Linked DNA regions of Homo sapiens: all the other regions are linked to region 1. The links are contacts of gene promoters, found by promoter capture Hi-C in human tissues and cell types (Jung and others, 2019). All regions are on one chromosome and are shown on one strand. Each heading gives the region's core, a stretch centred on a gene start or on the middle of the fragment in contact. The rest is flanking DNA. Distances are from core to core; before and after follow the strand shown.

Region 1 (4,170 bases), core at 1,132-3,631:
AATAAAAGCACTCTAATGCTCAAGATCACAGAATGTTAAAATTGCAAGGGATCCTAGATATCAGTGATCTAGCCCTTTATCTTGTTGGTCACTATGTATATATCCCTTTTTTTTTTTTTTTTGAGAGAATCTTCCTCTGTGGCACAGGCTGGAGTGCAGTGGCAGGATCTCGGCTCACTGTAAACTCTGCCTCCCAGGTTCAAGTGATTCTCCCGCCTTAGCCTCTGAGTAGCTGGGATTGCAGGCATGCACCACCATGCCTGGCTAATTTTTGTATTTTTAGTAGAGACAGGTTTCACCATGTTGCCCAAGCTGGTCTCGAATTCCTGACCTCAAGTGATCTGCCTGCGTTCGCCTCCCAAAGTGCTGGGATTACAGGCATGAGCCACCACACCCAGCTTATATCCCATAAGTTGATGGTTTTGGCGGACATGTGCTGGCAGCTTTTAACCCTTCTGCGGTGAGAAGGATGTGTATGAGAGAAGCCAGATCCAGGGTCAGTGGATGAGCTATCACCTGTGCAAGTTCATATTTGCTTCATTTCTAGCTCATCCCAGATATCTACATTCCATGCCGAACTTATTGAGGATTTCCTCACTGGATTCCACTACTGCTGGTGCCACCTGGGTCCTCATAGTGTTTCCTTTTCCTTTTAGTTGTAGGGGAATAAAGCATTCATTTATTTTCCAAGGGTTGGCTGAGTTAAGTCACATGAACATGTGTTCTATTTCAGATGGGTTTGAAACTAGGCTTGATGCCTTAAGGAATAGGGATGTCTAGATTTCTTTTTTCTGTACACTGCTTAAGACTCTGTGGCCAGCTAACTCTCAGGCTCCTTTGCTGCACTCAGATTGCTGGCCTCAGTTACACAGAGGACAGATTTGCCACATTCAAAAATGCTCTCCCTGGAATTGAAATGAGTTTGCAAAAGGTAGGAGTACATTTTATTCTCATTCTTGTGCATCTTATTTACCCTGATGGAAAGCATTACTTCTCTTTATCTTTCAAGGTGACCCAAAAGCATCCAAAACCAGGTTTTCCAGAATTATAGCATGTGTCCTCTAATGAAATGCCAACATTCACTCTCTTTAAAAGTAAAAATATCAAGATTATATAGTCATTAAAAAGAATAAGTCTGAACTAAGTGTTCTAAGATTTGATGCCTATGATGACTGGAATGGAAAAAGCAAGTCATATGATTCTATTTAAAATACTTACATTTGCCTGTGTGTAAAAGGCAAAGATCTCAATTGAGCACACGGTGGTTAACTGGGGAGTGGGACTATGGTATGTACAGAGGGCGAGGAAGGGGCTTGCACTTGTTCCTTATTTCTGAATTGTTCTGAATTGTCTAGATTATTCACTGAGTGTGTAGTGCTTAAAAATTAATTAGAAGACATCACACACATTCACTGAGAATCCTAATCAATCTTCACTGCATTTAAAGTCTGGAAACGGTTACATTCTCAGTTTGACTGGTTTCATGCAGTGTTCAATTGCTTCACCTGACATTCCTCGGGTATCGGGTTCTGTGCCGGGCACGGAGGCTACTAAGATGAATAACACCTGGTCCATGACAGGATGGCATCTACCCCAGAACACAGGTAAGAGAGACAGTGAATTTGGTAAAAATGGGCACCGTCATCAGTAGGCATACATCAGCTCCCTCATCTGATTCACAATTGGCCTTCTGTAGGCTTCTTCTCTTGGCAATGCAATTGGCAGGCGTCATCCTTTTATACTTAAACTCCAAATTTAGGATTAAGACTCCAGTTAATACTGCCAAGCAGAAGGCGTCCTTGGAGAAAGAGAAGTCTCCTGAACATACCCACTGGGGTACCTAGAATAGATTTTGCAGCGACACACAGATCCTGTGTTGTCTGGAGTCTCTGCTGAGTAATGTAGATTCTGGGACAGCAAAAGGGGAGCTGGTGACTTTGAACCAAATTTTACCTTTCAACTGAATCCAGGGGAATAATTTGCAACAGAGTGGCAGACGATACAAAGTGCTATGTTGAACACTAGATTGTGCTTTATTTTTTCCGCCCAACTTCACGTTTCCATGCACCAAAATGTTGATGCTATAAATATTGGATGCCACGCTTACCTGACAGGCTTCTTCCATCCCACCTGGGCGCGGGGGCTCAGAGCGAGCGCGCGAGCCGCGGCTGGAGCCCGCCTCTCGCGGCTGGAGAGGACTCAGCCGGCCGCGGGTTCTGCTGCTTGCCCGGGTGCCCTAGCCGCTTCCCAGCCAGGGCTCCCGCAGTCAGCCCCGCGCGCGCACGCGCGCTCCCCTCGGGCGGCCTCGACGCCTCAGGGCTTCGGCAGGGCTGCGACTGGCCGGCTCCAGCGGGCGGGGCGGCGAGCGAGTGCTCGCGGCCACGTGACCGACGCCAACATGGCGGCGCCCAGTGGCGTCCACCTGCTCGTCCGCAGAGGTAAGCGCGTGGAGGAGAGCCCCGTGAGGGTTCGCACGGTTGCTCACTAGGTACGCACCCGGGTCCAAAGGGATGCGCACCCGCGCTCAGACTTCTCGGCGCACACGACTGTACTTTCAGTGTTTACGAACACACGCAGGCACACACGATGACACATTCACACACCACAGGATCACACATACAAATTTGTTCACTGATCACCCGCCTAGAACACGTCACCACGTGGCATCTTTTCGCAATTACTCCTTGAGATTTGCGGGCCATTGTCTGAAGTTTTTTTCCCCAACTTCGGTTGTATCATTAGTGTAACCAACATTTATTCTGTATGCCGAGCAAGGAAACCTATGGTAATTCTGAAATGCATCTGGACACCCGGTTCCCTTCCCTAGAGCTTTTATGCAGGCATGCTTTTTGGGGACTTGCAAAATGTGATGGTTTTCTTCCAGTGACTTAAAGTTAAGAAGATAAGAAAGGATGTCTGGGTAGTTCTAAGTAGGTTTTATCCTGCGTGAGTGTTGAGATTTTAGTAAATATACAAATGCCTTTGCAGCAGAATTGGGGAAATCTTTGTTGGATTTGAACTAGGTGCTGAATCTTTGTTGGAAAGAACTAGAAAGTTTTTCCAAGGACGGGGGAAGAGGAAAACTATCATATTTTGAGGAGCTACTTAAGCGTCAGGCATGTAGGAACAGTTTTGTGAGGTAAATATTATTTTCATAGTAACAGCTACTGTTTATTAAGTGCCTTTTAAGTACACGATACTGTGTTAAGCGCCTTACATATGCTTGCTTCCTTTTAAAACTCAATGAATGAGACCCCGTCTCTACAAAAAATTTTAAAAATTAGTCGGGCGTGGTGACACATGCCTGTAGTCTCAGCTATTCTGGGGGTTGAGGTGGTAGGATCGCTTGAGCCTGGGAGGTCAAGAGGCTGCAGTGAGCCGTGATCGTACCACTGAACTCCAGACTTGGCAATAGAGCCAGACCCTGTCTCAAAAACAAAAACAAAAACCCAGTGAGTTAGGAATTATTTTCTCTTTGCAGAAGGGAAAAGTAAGGCTAGAGAGGTTAAGTAACATTACTAAGGTCGCATAAATGGTAAGAGGCAGATTGCTCATTTGAACATGACTCTAATTTTTTTTTTTAAGACTCATTTCTCGGTACTGCATGACGTGGTCACTCCATAGAAGTCAGTGTGTAAAGTTCAGCAGAGACAGTGCAGGATGAGTGTGTACAAAAAGTGAAGAGAGCCTGGGCACGGTGGCTCACACCTGTAAACCCAGCACTTTGGGAGGCCGAGGCAGGTGGCTCACTTGAGGTCAGAAGTTCAAGACCAGCCTGGCCAACATGGTGAAACCCCGTCTCTACTAATATACACAATTAGCTGGGCGTGGTGGCGCATGCCTGTAATCCCAGCTACTCGGGAGACTGAGGTAGGAAAATTGCTTTAACCCAGGAGGTGGAGGTTGCAGTGAGCTGAGATCATACCACTACACTCTAGCCTGGGCGACAGAGCGAGACTCCGTCTCAGAAAAAAAAAATAAATAAAAATAATAAAAAATAAGAAGTGAAGAGGAAGATATTTTTAGAGAGGAAGAAGGTTGGTAATCGAATAGACTTCAGTATTTCAGTGTTAGTGGAGATGAGAAAGGGGCCACAGGAAGATTTGAGGGGAGAGATGTGTATGGGGAAGGTGATGTAGCGAGCATTTTGGACTGGTTGCATGAAGGAAT
Region 2 (4,170 bases), core at 756-3,255, 400 kb before region 1:
AAAACATCACGTGAAGCCAGAATCCCAGAAATATTACTCTAGGTATGTTCAAAAGGGTTGAACAGAAGTGTGGGGGGTGCCCGAGAGACAGAGATGTAGAAAAACTTACCAATCATCTCTAGACCGAAATGAAAATTATAAATGGGAAAGAATACTTGGAGAATGCTAACCACAAGTTTGTTATCACAAGTGTTTAAGCCAGAATTTACACCATCTGTATTACCTACCCACCAATAAATCTAAGTCAAATATGTCGTTAAAAGAGCATCCAAATATTTAGCTAATAGGAACAGAACAATAGGATAAACCTAAAGAAAGTGGAAGGATGGGAATCATAAGGGAAAAAAATAATGAACTAGAAAATGAAGAAACAGTAAAGCACATCTTTTGAAAAGACTCATGGAAGTGATGACCCAGACAGAAAGGCTGTGCCCAATCCCCAGTGTTGCAGTTGGGGAGAGCACAGGTTTCATAGAAAAGTGCTGCATTGCCAGGCACGGTGGCTCACGCTTGTGATCCCAGCACTTTGGGAGGCTGAGGCGGGTGGATCACCTGAGGTCAGGAGTACAGGACCAGCCTGGCCAACATGGTAAAATCCCATCTCTACTAAATAATACAAAAATTAGCCAGGCGTGGTGGTGGGTGCCTGTAATCCCAGCTACTTGGGAGGCTGAGGCAGGGAGAATTGCTTGAACCCGGGAGGCGGAGCTTGCAGTGAGCCGAGATCATGCCACTGCAGTCCAGCCTTAGTGACAGAGCGAGATTCTGTCTCAAAAAAAAAAAAAAAAAAAAGAAAGAAAGAAAGAAAGTGCTGCATCCAATTGGATAAAGAAAATGTGGTCCATATATACCATGGAATACTACACAGCCATAAAAAATGTCTTTTGCAGGAACATGGATGGAGCTGGAGGCTATTATTCTTAGCAAACTAACACAGGAACAGAAAACCAAAAACCACATGTTCTCACTTATAAGTGGGAGTTGAATGATGAGAACACGTGGACACAAGGAAGGGAACAACAGACAGTGGGGTCTACTTGGGGGTGGAGGATGGGAGGAGGAAAACGGCAGAGAAAATAACACTTGAGCTGGGAGCAGTGGCTCATGCCTGTAATCTCAGCTCTATGGTAGGCCAAGCGGGCGGATCACAAGGTTGGGAGTTCGAGAGCAGCCTGACCAACATGGCGAAACCCCATCTCTACTAAAAATACAAAAATTAGCCAGGCATGGTGGCACGTGCCTGTAATCCCATCTACTCAGGAGGCTGAGGCAGGAGAATCGCTTGAACCCAGGAGTTGGAGGTTGCAGTGAGCCAAGATCACTCCAATGCACTCCAGCCGGGCGACGGAGCAAGACTCCATCAAAAAAAAAAAAAAAAAAAAAAAAAAAAAGAAAGAAAGAAAATGACACTTGAGTACTAGGCTTGATACCTGGGAGATGAAATGATCCGTACAACAAACCCCCATGATGTGAGTCTAGCTATATAACAAACCTGTACATGTACCCCTGAATCTAATATAAAAGTTAAAAATTTAAAATATATATATTTTAAGTGCCACCTTCAACAGTTCCTGAACAGACTGTGGTGGCTGAGGGACAGGTCCAGGCAGATTCTAGATTTTCCATAAAATGGGAAATCCTCTCAAAAGCCAGTGAATGCCAGCATGGTCCAGGGAACAAAACCAAGAGCCCTTGACCCTCCAAGAGAAAGTGGAGGTGACTATTTAGGCCACAGAAGGAGGAAGAGGCAGAGTATGGGACCAGCCTCAGAGCTGTTGGGGTCAGAGCCATCAGCCAGGCATGTGGTAGAAAGATCATTTAGGACCATGTGGGTCCCTTGGGGAGGGTGAGCAAAGCTCAGACCAGAGCTCCTCCTAATGCCAGCACTCCATGGACACTCCCATTGTGTTCCACCTGGGAATTCATATCTCTCCAGGGAGAAAGGAAGGAGAAGAAGGAAGGGAGAATTTCATAGTTGATGTTTACTTACCCAGAAGAGACTGAGTCTAAACTAAATGCTACAGTTTGAATTAGAAAAACATTTTTGCATATCTGAGTCCTAAGACTCTGAAATTCATGCTAGCTATAAAAGAATAAATGTGCAAAGAGGACTTGAAAAATCTAAATAACTAGACCTTGGAAAAATCAGAATGGAGAGTCAGGTTGAGTCACAGGAGCTTTCTGCTGGCGTTTAGCCATTAATGTGATTCAGCTTCTTGCTCTTTATGCCTTTGCTCCCTTCTCTCTCCTCTTCCAGGCAGATAATTCCTTCTGTATTTGCAAATCAGTTTCCCTAGAGAAAAAAGTACATTGGCTCAGCTCACCAGTTCACACCAAGTCTCACCATAGTGAGTTAGCCCAAGGGCTTCCTTTGGGTGAGTCTTGCTTCCATTACATCTTCCCAGTCTCCCCATACTCCCCCACCACCTCCTCACAGGCACGTGTATGTGTGCAAAGACCAGCTCAGGTTGAGTGAGGCAAGCTTGAGGAGTGATATTCCTGGTGTCTACAGTTAAAATATGGGAGAAAAATATACAGGCCACTATGATCTCGATTTTCCTGCCCAAGAATATGAGCCTAAATGAGGTAAAGTGTGAGTGCCTCATACAAAGGCTGGCTGTGTACTAAGCCCTGTGTTAGCTGTTATAAGAGCCAAGGGAAAACTTCCCCGTGGCCCCTAAAGGTTTGCAAAAATCAACTGACAAAAGGCAGAGTAATAGGAGAAAAGGCATATGAATGTATTTGACCATAGTTTTACATGACACAGGAGCCTTCGGAATGAAGACCCAAAGATACGGATGAAACTGTCTACTTTCATGCTTAGGTTCACCAAAATGTGGACGGAAAGGCTATGAGCTATAATAGACTGAGTGGGGAAACCCAAGAAGGCCTGTCTATTATTTATTTATTATTTATTTATGTTTAATTTATTATTATTATTTTTTGAGATGGGGTCTCACTCTGTCACCCAGGCTGGAGTGCAGTGGTGTGATCTCCACTCACTGCAACCTCTGCCTCCTGGGTTCAAGTGAGTCTCCTGTCTCAGCCTCCCAAGGAGCTGGGATTATAGGTGCGCACCACCACACCCAGCTAATTTTTGTATTTTTAGTAGAGATGGGTTTCATCAGGTCTCAAACTCCCAACCTCAGGTGATCCGTCCACCTTGGCCTCCCAAAATGTTGGGATTACGGGTGTGAGCCAACACACCTGGCCTCTATTTAGGTTCTTCTTGGCCTCTGTGCAGCCTTCCTTCCTCTTGGGTATGGGGCTGGACCCTCTCTGGAATGGGGAGATCTTATGACCTACAATCAGACAAACTAGGTCAAATTGCTTCTTTATGGCCAGTTTTTACACAGAAAGGTGATGTGGGTGGAGGAGTGGAGTTAGAATAATATGTTTAGGTTTTATGGCTGGCTTTAGGGGAAATGGATTTTGGTTTCTGAGATGCACCTTGCCAAAGAGTTTCTTCAGTAGCTAGCCTTGGGGGAGAATGAGAGGCCAGTGACAGGAGGCGAGAAGAAGGTCAGAGAGAGCTGCTTCTGAGGTCTTCATTTTGGGTTATCATTTTCTGAGATCTTACACTGTCATTATCAACAACATTAGATTAGAGCAAAACCTTGGGCTACCTTTTTTTTTGTAAGTCCCTTTTCAACTCTCCTTTTTATTTTTTTTTAAACCATCCTCAGAAATCCTCTAGTCATTTCCTATAATTATTCTATACATATAAATCCTACCTCTCTAACAAGGCCAGATAATTTTTTTAGGAGTTTTCCCTATTTTTTCTTTTGGATCATCCACAGACTCCAGGGGAGTGTTATGCACAGATCAAGTGCTCAAATGATAAAATACTTTATTATACATTGGCTTCATGAGACATTTATCAAATTGTTCTGAAAATTTATTGAATTGAATTTATTCAGTTGAATTAAAACTTCCTATTAACAAGATAGTAATTATTTGAAAGACACATACATTTTACTAATGAGCACCTAAAGAGTGGCCAGATGCTGTGCATGCCATCTCCCAAACATGCCAGCCTGTTCCCTGGTCCGCACCTGTCTGTCTTAACCATTTACTTCTATGCTTCAAACATTCTCACATGGAGACTAAAAAAGATATAACAGCAAAAAAATCAGGCCTAGTTTATGATTCTAAAAATAAACTTAGCTG
Region 3 (4,170 bases), core at 865-3,364, 340 kb before region 1:
TTAATGTTGATATGATTGGTAGGTATCTTTTATAAGGTTAAAAAGTTCCTATCTGTTCCTGATTTGCTAAGGATTGTTTGAAATCATGAAACCTTGATGGATACCAAACCCTTTTTCTACATTGATCAAAATAGTCACATGCATTTTCTCCTTTATTTTGTTAATGTAATAACCATAAAAAGATTTTCTGATGTTAAACTAACTGACTTCCTGAAATAAAACTAACCTCATCATGGCTTATTATCTTTTTTATACATTGCTGGATTCAGGCTGCCAAATTTTTGTTTGTTTGTTTGTTTGGATGGGGTCTCACTCTGTTGCCCAGGCTGTAGTGCAGTGGCATCATTATAGCTCACTCCAGCCTCGAACTCCTGGGCTCAAGAGATCCTTCCGCCTCGGTCTCCCACTACAGGCTGCACCACTACACCCGGGTTGGGTTGCCTATACTTTTTCTGTGATTTGTACACCTATATTCATGAGAAAAACTGCCCTGTAAATTTTCCTTCTTATACTGCCCTTGCTTGCTTTTGGTATTAAGGCTATACTAGCTTCAAAAATGAGTTAAGTCATGCTCTTAATCTGTTTATTCTCTAGAAGAGTTTAAGACTGAAAATCTCTGCTACTTGAATGTTTGTCTGTCTGTGGTTTTCATTCGATTCCACTCCTCCCCTCTCCCCAGTCTTCCTTTCTCCCATCTCTTCCTCTCCCTGTCATTCTCTCTTTGTTCCTTCCTGCTATATTCACTTTCTTTTTCCTTTCCTATACCATCAGTAAGACCACCTTTGATTTAAAAGCATTACAAAATTGGCCTGAAGCCCAGGTATCAGGATTTTTATTTTAATCAATGTTTTTAACATTCCCAGATATAACATTTTTGTGTGTGTTTGATGTAACCAGTTAGTACTGCCTAGATGTGAAAAAAAGAATCTTGCAGTCATTTGAAATAATACTGATTGCTAAATAAGAATTTCAATTATCTGTTCGTAATTACCTATTTTGAAATATTTTTGAAACGAATTCAGTCCCATTCACGGCGTGGTACTTCCAGATTTCTCTGCCTTGTGACACTCAACAATGAAGGGAAACAATTTGAGGATGTAAAGAATACATCAAAATTTCACGGGAACGAGAGCCTTTTCACAAATAAGCTATGCTGATTTTCCACCTTCAATTCTGTCCTTTATGTTTCATAGATATCCTCCCTCTCCTTTCAAATAGCACAAATGTAATTTTCTTGATGGGGCATTATTTCTGGATGGTAAAGATTACTTTAATTCTCTGTAAGAAAAACCTGGGATGTTCCCATCTTTACTTAGTTGAAATGTAAATATTTTAAAACCTTCCATATCATTATGATTTCTTTTCTCCCAGTGACTTAGTGGCTAAATACCAAATGCTCCTTACAAAATGCAAATCACTTATTCAAAATACAATTAAATTATAGCATACATAGTTTATAAGCAATTACAGTCACATAATGTGTGTAATTTGGATTACTCTGGGTAAAAATCTATAAATGTATGGCTGCTACCTTCAAACCAAGAAATAGTTCTTTTTGGAAATATGATATACTACAGCAAAAATACCATTTTTAGGTAAGATGTAAAGTAAGTAGGGTAGGTCTTTCTCAAAGAATACCAATTAAGCCTTCCTCTTCAGGAATTCTGTGGGGGTCCTGTCAGTTAATTAGGTCATTTTACAATGAGAACAGATACCAACCTCGGAGTCTGGATTAATTCTATGGGTACGAATAATGATTGTTAAGATTACTAGTGTCCATTTTTTTATCACTTCTTTTGAGCAGTACCCCTCACACACACACACAAAAAAACTTAATCGAATTGAAATATTCCAAAAGAAAGATTTCTGAGTTTTCATAGCTTTAACCAGAAATCCCATTAAACTGAATCTTTCGTGGACACTGTGATAAGTTACCCAGATGCCCGTCAGGAAGAAGGACTTTGTGTTAGTTTCCTAGGGCTGCCACAAAAATTACCACAAACTGAATGGCCTGAAACAACATGGGCTTATTTTTTCATAGCCATGAAGGCCAAAAGTGTGAAATCAATGTGTAGGCAGGGCCGTGCTTTCTCTGAAGGCTTTAGAGGAGAATCCTCTATGTTTCTTCTAGCTTCTCATGGCTCCAGGCATTTCTTGGCTTGTGGCTGCATGACTCCAGTCTCTGCCTCTGTCTTCACATGGCCTTTTCCTCTGTGTCTCTGGGTAGTCTCCTCTTCTATCTCTTATAGGGACACTTGTCATTGGATTTAGGGAACCCCCAGGTAATCCAGGATGATCTCTTCTCGGGGTCCTTATTTACATCTACAAAGATCCTTTTTCCAAATGAGGTCACATTCACAGGTTTTGGGGGTTACAATGGGGACATATCTTTTGGGGGGCCACCATTCAATCCATTGCAGACTTATTCCCTGGACTCCTGGGAGAGCTGCCAGAAGGAAGTCTTAGCTGTTAGCCTTCTTTGGGGATTGCCTCAGCTGAAAGAAGCTGCTTTGTCCATGGCAGGGTTCCTTCTATGGGGAGCTCATAGCTAACACTGATCAAAATGGGTACAAAGGCCAGCTTGGAGCTATACCAACTTGGAGCTATACCAGCTTGGAGCTATACTTCAGAACTACTCCAGTTCCAGAACTCTCACTATGGTGAGCTGAGGCCTTCATTAGGACTGCACCAGGCTCAACTTCTCCTTGGCCTTCATCCTCCCCTTCCTCCTCTCCCTGGTCCTCCTGGTCAGTGCCTTCTGACTCAGCTTTGCAGGGAACCCAGCCCGAAACACTTAGATGAAAATAATTCATTCATTCACTCACTCCTTTATTCATTCACTCATTCATTTTATTTCATTCAATAAACATTTATTGAGCACCTACTGTGTGCCATGTGCTTTCTTTCACAAGTATGGCACAGTGATCATATTTGAATCTTTTGTAAATCAGGATCTTCTCGTGCCTCAAACTAACCATCCTGAGCCTCATTTGTTAGTTGTAGATCTTAAAGGTTTAAGAGAGGAACTCACAATTTATCCTAGAAGTTATCTTTTGTTTTGATAAATCCCAACCTAACATAAGCTTTTTTCTGCAGTGATGTGCAGTTTGCCCCCAATAAAGGTACCTAAAAAATACATCACTTGAGTAGTCTGATCTATCAGGACTTGCCTAGGTTCTGGATTTTCTGTGTTATTTAAGGTCTGTATTTTAACCTTATTAAAATGGATAAGTGGAGAAGAAATAATGACAGACTTTCAGTGTTAGAAGTACGCACCACAGGATTTCAGAAGGTTAAAGCACTGCCAGAACCAAGGAATTATCCAGCCAGCCCAAATTCCCTGTACTACAAATGGGAAAACTGGGAGTTCATCCCATAGCTGCCTTCATCAGGTAGAGTATGGGACTTTTATCTGATTGTTGTATATATGGGGCTGGGGGTGTTTCTCCATTTCAGTTGTAAACTCCTTTTGGGCAAGATCTGAATCTCATATTTTTCTGCCCTGCTCAGTGTGTAGAAAAATAAGAAGTAAGATTTTGAATAAATAATTGATTGATTGGGCCCTCTTCATCTAGCAAAACTGCTTCGATCATGTCGGTAGTTAAGGGTCTTAATTTTTTATATGCAGACCTCCAGAGGAAATCTAATAATGTCCCTCATCACTTGAATCCTAGGCTTAACAATAATCATTGTCAAGGAGTTCCTCCTAAAAAATAACCCAGCTTTACAGAATAGCCCCAAAATGTCATAAATATGCACATAATTTGTACTAGCCCTTTTCTTTGTAAGTAGTTCGCAGATAATAAAGCATGTTGGAAATAAAATCAGTACTTTTTAAAATTTGAAATGTTTAAATAGCTACTTAACCATTATTTTTACTCCACCTCATTCCATAAAGGATCCAAGGTCACTTACAATTAGACACACATTTCAATATTTTAAAAAATAAACATGATGTGAGAAAACTGAAGTAGAAAATAAGATAAAGTACAGGGTAATGTTAATATCCAAAGTTCATAAATTGCTAGTAGGAGGCCTGAAACTTGGCTCTGAGCATTCCAATTAATTAATAATAACTGCTTTTCTAGAAGGCAATAGAGTGGTCCAAGTTCCTAGTCATCAGAGTCTACTTCATCCGAGATAATAAATCTAAGTCAATCACAATAATCT

Evidence for each region. The method cuts DNA at HindIII sites, captures the fragments that hold promoters and counts their contacts. A contact is called where the count stands out against the background at its distance.
Region 2: a contact is called between a fragment that was not itself captured here and the fragment with the promoter of METAP1D in region 1, in 1 of the 25 tissues and cell types used here (liver).
Region 3: a contact is called between a fragment that was not itself captured here and the fragment with the promoter of METAP1D in region 1, in 1 of the 25 tissues and cell types used here (mesendoderm cells).

What each region holds. Positions count from the first base shown.
Region 1 is chr2:171,997,572-172,001,741 of GRCh38, forward strand. It overlaps METAP1D (methionyl aminopeptidase type 1D, mitochondrial), which reads left to right and starts at 2,382. Exons shown (of 10, transcript NM_199227.3): 1 at 2,382-2,438. The coding sequence starts at 2,399. LOC124905590 (a long non-coding RNA gene) reads right to left here and starts at 2,338. Exons shown (of 3, transcript XR_007087296.1): 1 at 2,108-2,338. RefSeq lists a silencer at 2,077-2,376. The HindIII fragment of the contact is 22,489 bases long and covers 1-4,170 here.
Region 2 is chr2:171,593,804-171,597,973 of GRCh38, forward strand. No RefSeq gene overlaps it. Among named protein-coding and RNA genes, the nearest start is that of CYBRD1, 73 kb to the left of the region's middle. The HindIII fragment of the contact is 6,784 bases long and covers 1-4,170 here.
Region 3 is chr2:171,660,705-171,664,874 of GRCh38, forward strand. No RefSeq gene overlaps it. Among named protein-coding and RNA genes, the nearest start is that of DYNC1I2, 25 kb to the right of the region's middle. The HindIII fragment of the contact is 6,967 bases long and covers 1-4,170 here.